Linked DNA regions of Homo sapiens: all the other regions are linked to region 1. The links are contacts of gene promoters, found by promoter capture Hi-C in blood cells and fetal thymus (Javierre and others, 2016). All regions are on one chromosome and are shown on one strand. The core of a region is centred on a gene start or on the middle of the fragment in contact, and the rest is flanking DNA. Distances in the headings are between cores, read along the strand shown. Region 1 holds the start of DMKN (dermokine). Region 2 holds the start of PMIS2 (PMIS2 transmembrane protein). Region 3 overlaps HAUS5-DT (HAUS5 divergent transcript).

The links. The method cuts DNA at HindIII sites, captures the fragments that hold promoters and counts their contacts. A CHiCAGO score of 5 or more calls a contact.
Region 2: a contact is called between a fragment that was not itself captured here and the fragment with the promoter of DMKN in region 1, in 3 of 17 cell types (M2 macrophages, M0 macrophages and M1 macrophages). The highest score is 6.2, in M2 macrophages.
Region 3: a fragment that was not itself captured here is called in contact with the fragment with the promoter of DMKN in region 1 in 4 of 17 cell types (M1 macrophages, M0 macrophages, M2 macrophages and 1 more); the score reaches 9.4 in M1 macrophages.

What each region holds. Positions count from the first base shown.
Region 1 is chr19:35,510,748-35,515,253 of GRCh38, reverse strand. DMKN (dermokine) reads left to right here and starts at 1,605. Exons shown (of 16, transcript NM_033317.5): 1 at 1,605-2,204; 2 at 2,464-2,664; 3 at 2,777-2,833; 4 at 3,441-3,491; 5 at 3,661-3,843. The coding sequence starts at 1,779. The HindIII fragment of the contact is 13,607 bases long and covers 1-4,506 here.
Region 2 is chr19:35,584,677-35,589,186 of GRCh38, reverse strand. PMIS2 (PMIS2 transmembrane protein) reads right to left here and starts at 3,014. Exons shown (of 2, transcript NM_001395412.1): 1 at 2,646-3,014; 2 at 1,891-2,211. The coding sequence starts at 2,927. The coding sequence ends at 2,041. The HindIII fragment of the contact is 2,233 bases long and covers 810-3,042 here.
Region 3 is chr19:35,605,246-35,609,259 of GRCh38, reverse strand. It overlaps HAUS5-DT (HAUS5 divergent transcript), which reads left to right. Exons shown (of 2, transcript NR_186318.1): 2 at 457-871. Among named protein-coding and RNA genes, the nearest start is that of HAUS5-DT, 5.4 kb to the left of the region's middle. The HindIII fragment of the contact is 3,634 bases long and covers 503-4,014 here.

The sequences.
Region 1 (4,506 bases), core at 356-2,855:
GACTCTGTCTCAAAAAGAAAAAAAAAATTAGCTGGGTGTGCTGGTGTGCATCTATAGTCCCAGCTACTTGGGAGACTGAGACAGGAGGATCGCTTGAGCCCAGGAGGTCGATGCTGCAGTGAGCTACAATTGTGCCAGTGTACTCCAGCCTGGGCAAGACCCTGTCTCTAGAAAAAAAGAACCATCTCCCAGAGTTGTATAATTCTTAAACTGCTTGTGCTTAGTCCAATGCTGGGTACATACAGAACCGCTGATAAGCTGGAGCTGTAATTATTATTATTATTATTATTATTATTACCACCATCGCTATTATCATCATTAACGAGTCAGAGATGGAATAACAGGGAAGTAGGAGCTGAGGAGGACAGATGGGGATAGTGTTTACAAGGTAAGAAGTGTTGGATGTTATAAGCTGGGGTGCGGATATTGGGGTGGAGAGAAGAGAGAGACTGACTGAGAGACATTGAGAAAGGCTGATGGAAACTGGCCCCTCCTAACTGGGCGATGAACCCCAGTGATACGAAACAGTGGGAGGCCCTGTGGCCCCTGGGAATAGAGAAGCAGCCACACTTGCTGGGCAGGGGTGAGGCGGGGGGAGGCTCCCAGGTTCTGTATCCCGAGCTGGGACTGGGGAGAGGGCCGTGGCTCTCACGGATGGCTCCTGACCTTGCGCTACCCTCTTCTCGCTTGCCATTGCTGCCCTGGCCCCTGGCCTGGGGGATGGGTGGGGTGAGCTGGCCCAGTCCCGCCCCTCATAGGCGCTTATACTCACACGTGCCCCTCTAGGGCTGCGTAAACAGGATGGGTGCCTGGGTCAGCGGCTCCCTCCCTTGGCCTTCCCTCCCACTCGTTCCCTGGGGGTGGCTGGCGCGCCTGGCTGCCCTGCTCCGCGCCCAGCTTTCTCAGCCGGGAGCAGCCTGAACGCTGAGACACCCTGCTGACCACTCAAAGGGCTATGGCCACCTCCTTCCCCGACACCGAGGGTCCCCCCGGGGGCTCTCCCCAGAATCTCAGAAACTGACACGCAGCCCCGTGTTTGCCAGTCTCTCTCTGTGGGCTGGAAGGTGTGGAGGAACAAGAAGGCAGTCACCTGTAGGTGGCAATGCGGGAGGGGAGAGGGAGAGGAGAGGCTGAGGTGCTGAAACCGAGAAAGGCCAGGCCGAGGACGGGCAATGCCTGTCACTCTGGAGCCCCTGAGCCAGGCTGGCTGAGCCTGGGTGGGTCCTGTCCCCTGGGGCTTCCCTGTCCTTACTCCTTTGGTGGGGTCCTGCCAGTAACTCCTCTCTTCTAAGTCTGCCCCCACCCCACCGCCTCCAGGAGCCAACGACAACCTGTCTCCTTAGATGCCCCTGCCCCCACCCAGCTCCCCGAATGCCTGGGGTTGGGAAATGGGAGCACTTTTGCATCACCTCATCCATTTCTCCCTCCCTCCCTGATGCGGCTCACTCTCTGTTTCGACAGAGACTCTCAGACTCACAATAACAGCTGATTACCCTATTGGTGGCTGGGCCCTGAGTCACTGCGGGGAGGGACCTCAGGTTGCCCAGCCCTGTCACCTTCTCCCAACCTAGAGTATAAGGAGTAGTGACAGGGAGGTGGACTCTGAGAAGCCCAGGCAGTTGAGGACAGGAGAGAGAAGGCTGCAGACCCAGAGGGAGGGAGGACAGGGAGTCGGAAGGAGGAGGACAGAGGAGGGCACAGAGACGCAGAGCAAGGGCGGCAAGGAGGAGACCCTGGTGGGAGGAAGACACTCTGGAGAGAGAGGGGGCTGGGCAGAGATGAAGTTCCAGGGGCCCCTGGCCTGCCTCCTGCTGGCCCTCTGCCTGGGCAGTGGGGAGGCTGGCCCCCTGCAGAGCGGAGAGGAAAGCACTGGGACAAATATTGGGGAGGCCCTTGGACATGGCCTGGGAGACGCCCTGAGCGAAGGGGTGGGAAAGGCCATTGGCAAAGAGGCCGGAGGGGCAGCTGGCTCTAAAGTCAGTGAGGCCCTTGGCCAAGGGACCAGAGAAGCAGTTGGCACTGGAGTCAGGCAGGTTCCAGGCTTTGGCGTAGCAGATGCTTTGGGCAACAGGGTCGGGGAAGCAGCCCATGCTCTGGGAAACACTGGGCACGAGATTGGCAGACAGGCAGAAGATGTCATTCGACACGGAGCAGATGCTGTCCGCGGCTCCTGGCAGGGGGTGCCTGGCCACAATGGTGCTTGGGTGAGTGGCTGTGGGGCTGCATGTGGAAATGGGAGGCTGTGGGCTGCTGGGCTGAGATTCTTGGGAAACGGTTGAAAGGATGGATGGATCTCTTACTTGCAGGCTTCTGGGGCAGCTTCCTTCTATGTTCTGCCCCCCTCCTATGCCACCCTGGAGTCCCTCTGCCTGTCTCTCTCCTGGTCTCTTTATGATTTGCCCTGGCTCTTCTCTACCAGGGTCAGAGATGGTCCCACTAAGTGCAGGTATGTTGTTCTTGCAGGAAACTTCTGGAGGCCATGGCATCTTTGGCTCTCAAGGTGGCCTTGGAGGCCAGGGCCAGGGCAATCCTGGAGGTCTGGGGACTCCGTGGGTCCACGGATACCCCGGAAACTCAGCAGGCAGCTTTGGAATGAATCCTCAGGGAGCTCCCTGGGGTCAAGGAGGCAATGGAGGGCCACCAAACTTTGGGACCAACACTCAGGTAAAGTCACCCCCAGACCTGCTACCTGCCACCTCCCTCCCTCCAAGCCCACATGCTCCGCGTGCCTCCCTGGTCCCTCTGGATCCTACTCTCAGTCTCACCCTCTCTGCAGGGAGCTGTGGCCCAGCCTGGCTATGGTTCAGTGAGAGCCAGCAACCAGAATGAAGGGGTAAGAGGAAGGGGCTGGGAACAAATGAAGAAGCCACTGGGTGCAGGCTACAGAGAGCTGGGGAAAGACAAAGAGGAAAGCAAGATGGGGGAGTGGAGGGATTGGGGTGAGAGGAAGAGATGGGGCTGGGCGAGGTGGCTCACACCTGTAATCCCAGCACTTTGGGAGGCCAAGGCACGTGGATCACCTGAGGTCAGGAGTTCAAGACCAGCCTGGTCAACATGGTGAAACCCTGTCTTCACTAAAAATACAAAAATCAGCCGGTCATAGTGGCATGCGCCTGTAATTGCAGCCACTTGGGAGGCGGAGGCAGGAGAATCACTTGAACCTGGGAGATGGAGGTTGCAGTGAGCCGAGATCGCATCACTGCACTCCAGCCTGAGCAACAGAGTGAGACCCTGTCTCAAAAAAAAAAAAAAAAAAAAAAGGAGGAAGAGACGGGCCTGGGCCTGGGGAGGAGGCAGATGGGAAGGGGAGGTGGGAGAAACACATTAGGAGAAAGGAAGCCAAGCCCCAAAGAATGGGAGAGGCCTGGCCTGTGTCCATGGCCGAGGCCAACGTCTCCAAACTCACCGTCCCCAAACTCACCATCCCTTTCCCTCGACAGTGCACGAATCCCCCACCATCTGGCTCAGGTGGAGGCTCCAGCAACTCTGGGGTGAGTGGAGAGGGGCAACCCAGGAGTTGTGCACCAGGAGGAAATGGAGAAGTTCTGCTCCCCTTAGACTGGGCATCATGGAATATGGCCTGGGTGGAGAGGGAGGGAGGAGGGGCCCGTCTTGGTGCTCTGTCTTTAATCCCAGCCCTGCTCCCTTCCTGCCCCTCAGGGAGGCAGCGGCTCACAGTCGGGCAGCAGTGGCAGTGGCAGCAATGGTGACAACAACAATGGCAGCAGCAGTGGTGGCAGCAGCAGTGGCAGCAGCAGTGGCGGCAGCAGTGGCGGCAGCAGTGGTGGCAGCAGTGGCAACAGTGGTGGCAGCAGAGGTGACAGCGGCAGTGAGTCCTCCTGGGTGAGTTTGGCACCTCTGTGGAAGGCTGAGATGGGGTGAGGCCCTAGTGGTCCCTGCCGGGAGAGGGCTCCAAGTTTCTCTGAAAGCTGCCGCTGCCCGAGGATGGGCGGCCTCGCTGATAGTCGTCACCCTGAGGCTCCCTCAGCCTCCTGTTCCCCACCCATGCTGTGCCCCTGATGCGCGCACTATCGTTTCTGCCAGAGCCACCCCACTGCTTCTGACTCTGTATCCCTATTTTCCACTCTGTGATGGTGGGGACGTTATCCCGCCTGTCTAAGCTCTTGCAGTCAAGTCCACTTGGCAAGTCTCAGGAGACCGTGGGGTGGCGGAGAAAGAGGGGGACATGGGAGAATATGACACTTGTCTGGGAAGCTCCCAGGAGAATGGGGGCAGGACTGTGATCCGGGAGACCTACGGACGCTGACAGAGCGACGGTGCAGACGACATTCACACATGGGGCCCCTGCACGATGGGTGTGAGGGCAGGAAGGGGCGCTGTGACCCCGCAGCTGCCACCCCAGGGCCCCGGGCCTCACTGACTCCAGAGCCGGCAGTCTCTCCAGCCTCCTGGTCAATGGCCTGTCCAACCCCTTGGCTGACGGCCTCTCCCATCCCGTGTCTTGGAGTCGAGCTGGAGAGGGAGCCACATCTGGCTTCCTCGGGG
Region 2 (4,510 bases), core at 677-3,176, 74 kb before region 1:
TAACATGACAGACAATTAGGCATCATCCTATCTGCAGGCATCCCCATAACCCAGAGCATTGTCCCACAAACACATGAGATCTGCCCAGACACCCAAGCCCACAGAGGAGACAAACTCAGCATCACAACAATTACAATTAAGGTGGACTAGGGCCTTTGTTGTTTCCTTCTATTATTATTTCCTATAGACCACCCAACAAGATGGATGTCTCTGTTGGGTATGAACTTGAAGCTGTAATCCCAGATGTGCAAGAAATAGAACTCTATTCTCCTGCATCTGCACTGGTTTGGGTGGATTGGGCTGTGGAAACAGGCCAAGCATGTCATTTGTCAACATGGTAGTCTATTTTCTGCTTGACCACATGAGGCAGTTGGGGGAAGGGAGGCTGTTCCTAGAATGGTTCAGGGACCCAGGCTAATGGGGGCTTTGCCACGTCTACAACATGTGGCCTTCTAAATCATCACATGGGTATCCCTTGCCCCGTTGGCCGGGGGAGGAGGAGTTTAGAGGAGTGTCCCAGGAGACATTGAAAAGCCAGGTTTGTTTGTGGTACATGTCAGTTCTGCTCACATTCCACAGGACCAAAGCACATTTCATGGCTGCAGAGGGGAACCTCTGAGACGTGGCCAGGCAATGTTCCCAGAACAAAGAGGCGATGGGCTCTGGGGGACAGTGAGCAGTCTCTTGCCCAGCAGCTCCATTGACTTTCTACTGAGAATCCCCATTCTCCATGGTGGTGGAAACTTAGTTCTGCTAAATATTGTGCTAAATATTCATCTGGTTCTGAACTTGGGGTTGTCCATGAAGCTTGGGCATCAGAGGCAGCCCCGGGGTGTCTGTGGCCCATGGTGTCAGTCTAGATCTCTGTTTTGATTCATGCACGATGGCTCCCTGCTTATCCCTAGTTTTCCTCTACAGTTCTGTCTCCACCTGGCACTTGGGATTCCTATGGAACCCACCTTCTTCTCACTAGGCTGGGCCATGGGGTATCCTCCTTGGCTGTCTGAGGTCATTTCTTTGTAAATGTCTACACCATGTAGCATATCTTCTTTGAGAACTTGGAGCCTCTCTAGGCCTTATCTGTGAGGAGGGATTATAGATAACAGCTGGGGTCTCTGACGCCCCTCTTCCTCAGATGCAGATTCCAGGAACCTTATGGATGTACTATTGTCTAATCTCTCTCTACATTCCCTTTTCCATGAATGGGGAACCAATGCCTTTCTGGAGGGGGGAGAGGTGGTCTTCATCAGCTATTCTGCCAAAGCTATTTGCATTTCTTGAGGACTTTCCATTCTTCTCCTAAGAGCTTGACATTTGGATGTCAGAAGCTGGAAGAGGTTTCTGTTTTCTTATTGCTGCTCTGAGACACTAGACATCTCCAATCCCAGCTCAAATGAGAAGACCCCTAGAGAATAAACATCAGTTCAGATTTCTAAATATCATCCCCACATTGGCAATTATGCCTGCTTTAGAGACAAAGGAACTATGCTCAAGAAAAGTATCTGTTCAGGGCTATACAGTTTTTCAGTGTCAGAGGTAAGTTTTTAACTGACATCTGCCTGAATTCTATGTCTGTGGGCTTCCCCATTGGGACATTCTGATTTTCACAGTCTAGGAAACAGCTCCAGGGAAACACAGATACTGACCACTGACCCAGAAAACAATCATGGGCATGTTGACACACACACATACACACACACCACAGGAAACCAGAACATTCCATTCCAGTTTTTTGGTTTAAAATTCCTCTGAAAGAACAGCCCAGTGTCAAGGAGCTAAAGGGATCTAGGGCATGAAGTGTGGACCCCTAGGGTGAACGAAGACAGCTCTGGAGCTGAGTGAGTTGAAGTAGCACAGGCAGGTGGTCTGTGTGTTCCTGGGTTGGTGGGTTTCTTGAATGTTGAGTTCCTTGGTTAGAGGATTTCTTGGCTAGATGTCTCAGCGGTTGAATTTCTTGCCTGATGGCTGACTTGGCTGGTTAGTGTTTGGTGAGTGGCTCGGTTGGGGAGCGGACCCCTGGGTTGCTATGCCTAGACTTCATTAATATAGGACCAAGCCATAAATGATGCCTAAGCCAATCATTACCACGAATGCACCGAACCAACCAGTTCGGCCTGAGTTGATGTAAGCCTCTTCCCATTCACTGTTCTGGTTGGCCTTCATAGTCTGTAGGGGTGGAAGCATAGATGTGGGTTTCTGTGTCCAGGAACCCTGGGGAGAACGGTTGGAGACCTGCAGTCACTGAGGGAAAGCCCCTATGCAGGTCCCAGGATAGGAGCAGATGCAGGGGCCAAATGGAGGACAGGGTAGGCTGGGTGCAGTGGCTCACGCCTGTAATGCCAGCACTTTGGGAGGCCAAGGCGGGTGGATCACAAGGTCAGAAGCTCGAGACCAGCCTGGCCAGCATGGTGAAACCCCGTCTCTACTAAAAATACAAAAATGAGCCGGGCACTGTGGCTCATGTCTGTAATCCCAGCTACTCAGGAGGCTGAGGCAGGAGAATTGCTGGAACCGGGAAGGCAGAGATTGCAGTGAGCCGAGATTGCACCACTGCACTCCAGCCTGGGGGACAGAGTGAGACTGGGTCTCAAAAAGAAAAAAAAAAAAAAAAAAGGACGGGGGCTATGACTTGGGCATTATTTTACCTCATAAGAGAAGTACAAAGCTGCCAATCCAAATGGAGGGAATAAAAGTATAGCAAAGATGGTCAAACATAGGTAGTTTGGGGCGTAAAATGCTAGTTCCTCTGGTGTCTGTGTAGGCTCTTGCGGCTCCTGGGGCACCTCAGCTGGGGCACCTGGACCACCTGTGGTAGTGGGAGAACCTGGGGCAGCTGAAGCACCTGGATCACCTGTGGTAGGGGGGGCGTCTGGGGTAGCTGGCGCGTTGGGAGCAGGCTGGGTGGCAGAAGGTGGTTTCAGGGCCATGACCTTTCCCCTCAAAGACGGACTCCGAGTGTCTTGAAAACGGAGCGCCAGACCCACTAGGCTTCCCCTTGTACTAACCAGACTCCCAGGACCCAAACCATCAAAGGCTGAAGCTTCGCAATGGAGAAACCAGCACCCCACGTCCTGATTGGCTGCCTAGTTAGGGGGCGTGGCCCCGCCGTTCTCGCCCACCCCAAGACACAGAGAGTGCAGCCAATCAGGAAGTGGGCTCCGCCCACCCTGGTAGGGATTGGTTGGAAGCCTAAGTGGTGGCTCTCGGCTCCTCCTCCTCCCACTGATCTCTCTCTGCAGCCTGCGCGGATGGGCGATGTCAGGAGGGTCTCCCAGGAGTTGTGGAAGAGAGAAACTAGACACGCCCAGTAAGAGTAAGAGATTTACTGAGGGGAGGAAAATGAGTAGTGTCAGAAGTGGATTGTAAAGTCTTGAATTAAAAATGAATTCCGGCTGGGCGCAGTGGCTCATGCCTGTAATCCCAACACTTTGGGAGGCCAAAGCGGGCGGATTACCTGCGATCAGGAGTTCGAGACTAGCCTGACCAACGTGGTGAAACCCCGTCTCTACTAAAAATACAAAAATTAACCGGGTGTGGTGGCAGGCGCCCGTAATCCCAGCTACTAGGGAGGATGAGGCAGGAGAATCGTTTGAACCCGGGAGGCGGAGGTTGCAGTGATTCGAGATCACACTGCACACTCCAGCCTGGGTGACAGAGTGAGACTCCATCTCAAGAAAAAATGACAAAAAAAAAAAAAAAAAAGAATTCCTTGGTTTATGCTGACAGAAAGAAAAAAGGAAAGAATAGAGAAAGAAGGGGAAAAGGGGGAAGATCTTTCTTAAAGTAGAACACAACCTAATGGAACGATGGAACAGGAAATCCCCAATGTGGTAGGCAGAACTCTGAGATGACCCGAAGATTCCTGCTCCCTGGTGTACACACTCCTTCTCCAGTCACTCAGTCAAGTACTAGTCTGTATGCTGCTGGGAAGGCGTCTTGCAGACGTAGGTAGGGTCTGAAATCAGTTAACTTTAAGTTAGGAAGAATATCCTCTGGGGGCCTCACCTAATGAGGTGAGTTCTTGAAAAGGACTGAGTCTTCCTGGCAAAAGAGGTTTCAGGTGTGAGAGGATTGGAGGCAAGCAAAGGTCTCCATTGCTGGCATGAAGATGTCACCAGGGCCACGTAGGGAGGAATCCAGGCAGCCTCTGGCTGAGAATGGCTCCCAGCTGACAGCCAGCAAGGAAACGGGGTCCTTAGTACTGCAACAGCAAGGATGTGAATCCTGCTGTAATCACATTCATTTGGAAGAGGATCCTGAGCTCCACATGAGAACCCAGCCCAGCTGACACCTTAATTTTAGCTTTGGTAGATTCTGAGCAGAGAAGCAGCCATTCTGACCTACAGAACTGTGAGTTAATACCTGTGGGGAATTTGTTATGCACCATTAGAGAACATTTTCAAATACCATAGTAATTGCTGATTCAGGTAGGAGCTTTTAATGAATGCTAATACTGTGGGGTTTTAGCTGATGCTTCCTTTAGCTGGTGGTTCTAGGGGAGTAGAGGGTT
Region 3 (4,014 bases), core at 1,070-3,569, 93 kb before region 1:
TACCTCTTGGGTTCAAGCAATTCTCTGCCTCAGCCTCCCAAGTAGCTAGGATTACAGGCATGCACCATCATACCCGGCTAATTTTTGTATTTTTAGTAGAGACGGGGTTTCACCATGTTGGCCAGGCTGGTCTCAAACTCCTGACCTCAAGTGATCCACTTGCCTCAGCCTCCCAAAGTGCTGGGATTACAGGTGTGAGCCACTGCACCTGGCCTCACTTTCTGCTTCTTATGCTCAATGTCTCCTTGTTTTGGAGACATGTCACCATTTGTCCTTTTCTTGGTTCCTTTCTCATGGTATCTGTTCTGTTGGCCTTGGTGGGAGGTACTGGTGCCTTCCTGCTTTCTTAGATCCTGAAGGAGCAGAGCCCCTGTGGCCTCTTGGTCTTCTTCTGTCAGCATCTCTCTCCCTTTGCTTTATCTGAAATCTCTTTTCTGTTTTTCTGGATAATTTCAGGATGCTTTTTGGAACCCATCCACCATCTGAGAGATAATAAGAAGCTTCTCTAGGACTTGTGATTTTGGTTTCAGCAGCTCCTTCCACGTTTGAGAAGAGTCTTCTCATTTCTTACTCATAGAACATCCCATCAGACATTTCTCCTGATCCACATAGTAATTCAGGGATCCAGGCTTCTTCCATAAGGTGATTCAACCATCTTCTATGGGCTCAGAGTCTTTTGAATCCAGGCAGAAGAGAGAATAAGGAACTCGCACCTGCTTCTTGAAAGTCTTCACCCTAAAGTGACATACATCACTTCTGCTCTCAGTCCATTGAACATAACTTGTCTTATGGCTTCAACTAGCTGCAAGGGCCTCTGGGAAATGTAGTCCTGGTCTAGGCAGTCAATAAACATCCTGCTGGCTCTGCCACAGAAGGCCTTTCTAAGATGTTCTTTGAGCTGAGACGTGAGAGCCAAAGTGTGAGAGCTACTTGAAAACTGTGAAAATGGAGTTCCCAAAGTGGGAACAGCAAGTGGAAAGACCCTGATGCTGGAATGTGCTCAAAGGAACAGTAAGAAATGAGCTTCTGGCTGGGCGTGATGGCTCATGCCTGTAATCCCAGCACTTTGGGAGGCTGAGGCAGGTGGATCACCTGAGGTTAGGAGTTTGAGACTAGCCTGACCAACATGGAGAAACCCCGTCTCTACTAAAAATACAAAAAAATCAGCCGGGTGTGGTGGTGCATGCCTGTAATCTCAGCTACTTGGGAGGCTGGGGCAGGAGAATCGCTTGAACCCAGGGGGCAGAGGTTGTTGTGAGCTGAGATCGTGCCATTGCACTCCAGCCTGGGCAACAAAAGTGAAACTCCGTCTCAAAAAAAAAAAAAAAAAGAACTTTTATTTTGTGAGCTACTGAAATGGTGGGGTTTATTTGTTATAGCAGCTAGCATGACTCTAAATAATATACCTTGTAGACATCATTGCCCACTAGCTCAGTGTATCTCAAACTACTTGTAACTATGGAGAAGGATCATTTGTTTGATGTTTCCAACCTGTCATGGACCAATCCTTTTGGTCTCTACCCTGTTCAACAAGAAAATCCATTGATCCTATACTTGGATGTCATGGATATGTCAAATTGCTGTGTTTCTAAACACTTGCTGGCAATTTCCGTACTTATCTGGTGGCACACCATTGCAGACACCAGCTCGGTTGGGGAGACCCTAACCCACTGGTGCTAGAGGAATTAAACACACACACACAGAAATATAGAGGTGTGAAGTGGGAAATCAGGGGTCTCACAGCCTTCAGAGCTGAGAGCCCCGAACAGAGATTTACCCACATATTTAGTAACAGCAAACCAGTCATTAGCATTGTTTCTATAGATATTAAATTAAAAGTATCCCTTATGGGAAACGAAGGGATGGGCCGAATTAAAGGAATAGGTTGGGCTAGTTAACTGCAGCAGGAACACGTCCTTAAGACACACATCGCTCATGCTATTGTTTGTGGCTTAAGAATGCCTTTAAGTGGTTTTCCACTCTGGGCGGGCCAGGTGTTCCTTGCCCTCATTCCCGTAAACCCACAACCTTCCAGCTTGGGCGTTAGGGCCATTATGAACATGTCACAGTGCTGTGGAGATTTTGTTTGTGGCCAGTCTTGGGGTCAGTTTATGGCCATATTTTGGGGGGCTTGCTCCCAACACCATAATAGTTGCTGGACCAGTCCTGGCACCACTTTAGCTTCTTATTCTGTTTTATTTTTCTCTATAGCATTTACCATTCCCTGTAATTATCTTGTTTATTTTTGGGTATACTTGTTTATAGTTTTCTTTCCCACTAGAATGTAAGCTCCATCAGAGAAGAAGTTGGCCTTACTTCTCTTGCTCCGTTGTGTTCCTCGTTCCCAAGACAATGCCTGGGACACAGTAGGTGCTCAGAAAGTATTTGTTAAATAATGAGTATTTGTTAAATAAAAATCATGGCTGGGAACAGTGGCTCACGCCTATAATCCCAGCACTTTGGGAGGCCAAGGCAGACAGATTGGTTGAGCTCAGGAGTTTGAGACCAGTCTGGGCAGCATGGCAAAACCCTGTCTCTACAAAAAATATAAAAATTTGCTGGGCATGGTGGCATGCACCTGTAGTCCTAGCTACTCAGGAGGCTGAGGCATGAGAATCACTTGAACCTGGGAGCCAGAAGTTGCAGTGAGCTGAGATTGTGCCACTGCATTCCAGTCTGGGTGACATAGTGTGACCCTGTCTCAAAAAAAAATTTAATAAAATGAAATAAAAATAACAAGGAGGGTGGGGGGAAGGAGGCAATCCATATCTGTTACAGAGGCTCTCTACAATCAGAACCTGACCAGAACTCTAACCAGTTTGTTAACAGCCATTGAGATCCCCTCAAGAGCTGTGGTTTTTTGATAGACCATGGTAGCTCAGATTAGATGTCAACTGAAGAATCATGAGGTTTTGATATGGTTTGGCTGTCCCCACCCAAATCTCATCTTGAATTGTAGTTCCCCAAATCCCCATGTGTTGTGGGAGGGACCTAGTGGGAGGTAATCGAATCATGGGGGTGGTTACCCCCATGCTGCTGTTCTTGAGATAGTGAGTTCTCACGAGATCTGATGGTTTTATAAGGGGCTTTTCCCTCTTTGCTTGGCACTTCTCCTTCCTGCTGCCATCTGAGGAAGGACGTTTTTGCTTTCTTTTCCACCATGATTTTAAGTTCCCTGAGGCCTCCCCAACCCTGCGGAACTGTGAGTCAATTAAACCTCTTTCCTTTATAAATTACCCAGTCTTGGGCAGTTCTTTTCAGCAGCGTGAGAACAGACTAATACAGGTTTACAAATTTGGAAAGGAGAGCTTTATTTCTCATAAAGAGTTGCAGCCTGCAGCCGGGCCATCTCACAGGCCGAGAAGTGTAGCCTCCGGTAGAAGCTGAGAGCAGGCACCTCCAGTAAGGGAAGGATAAGGTCAGAGTTAACGCTGAATGGCTTGGCTCAGTATACATATTCAACAGGTTATAGGAGGAGCTATGAATATTCATGAAGGGAAGGTACAGCACATGTGTAGTAACATCCCATATTCACTTTTTTTTTTTTTTTTTTTTTTTTTTGAGATGGAGTCTTACTCTGTCACCCAGGCTGTAGTGTAGTGGTGCGATCTCAGCTCACTGCAACCTCTCTTTCCCAGGGTTCAAGCAATTCTCCTGCCTCAGCCTCATGAGTAGCTGGGATTACAGGCACCCATCACCATGCCTGGCTAATTTTTTTATTTTTAGTAGAGACAGGGTTTCACCATGTTGGCCAGGCTGGTCTCAAACTCCTGACCTCAGGTGATCCGCCCACCTTGGCCTCCCAAAGTGCTGGGATTACAGGCGTGAGCCACCGTGCCAGGCCCCATGTTCACTTTGGAGTGGAGACTTAACACTTAAATGTATTACAATTAGGCCCTATACATCAAAAGGTGATGCAGAGGACACAAAGGCCCTTTGTGTGCAGCCTCTGTAGACTGGCCAGAGCCACACCCCGTGGTTAGGTGGCCTCTGATCAGGAAGGAATGCTGGTCA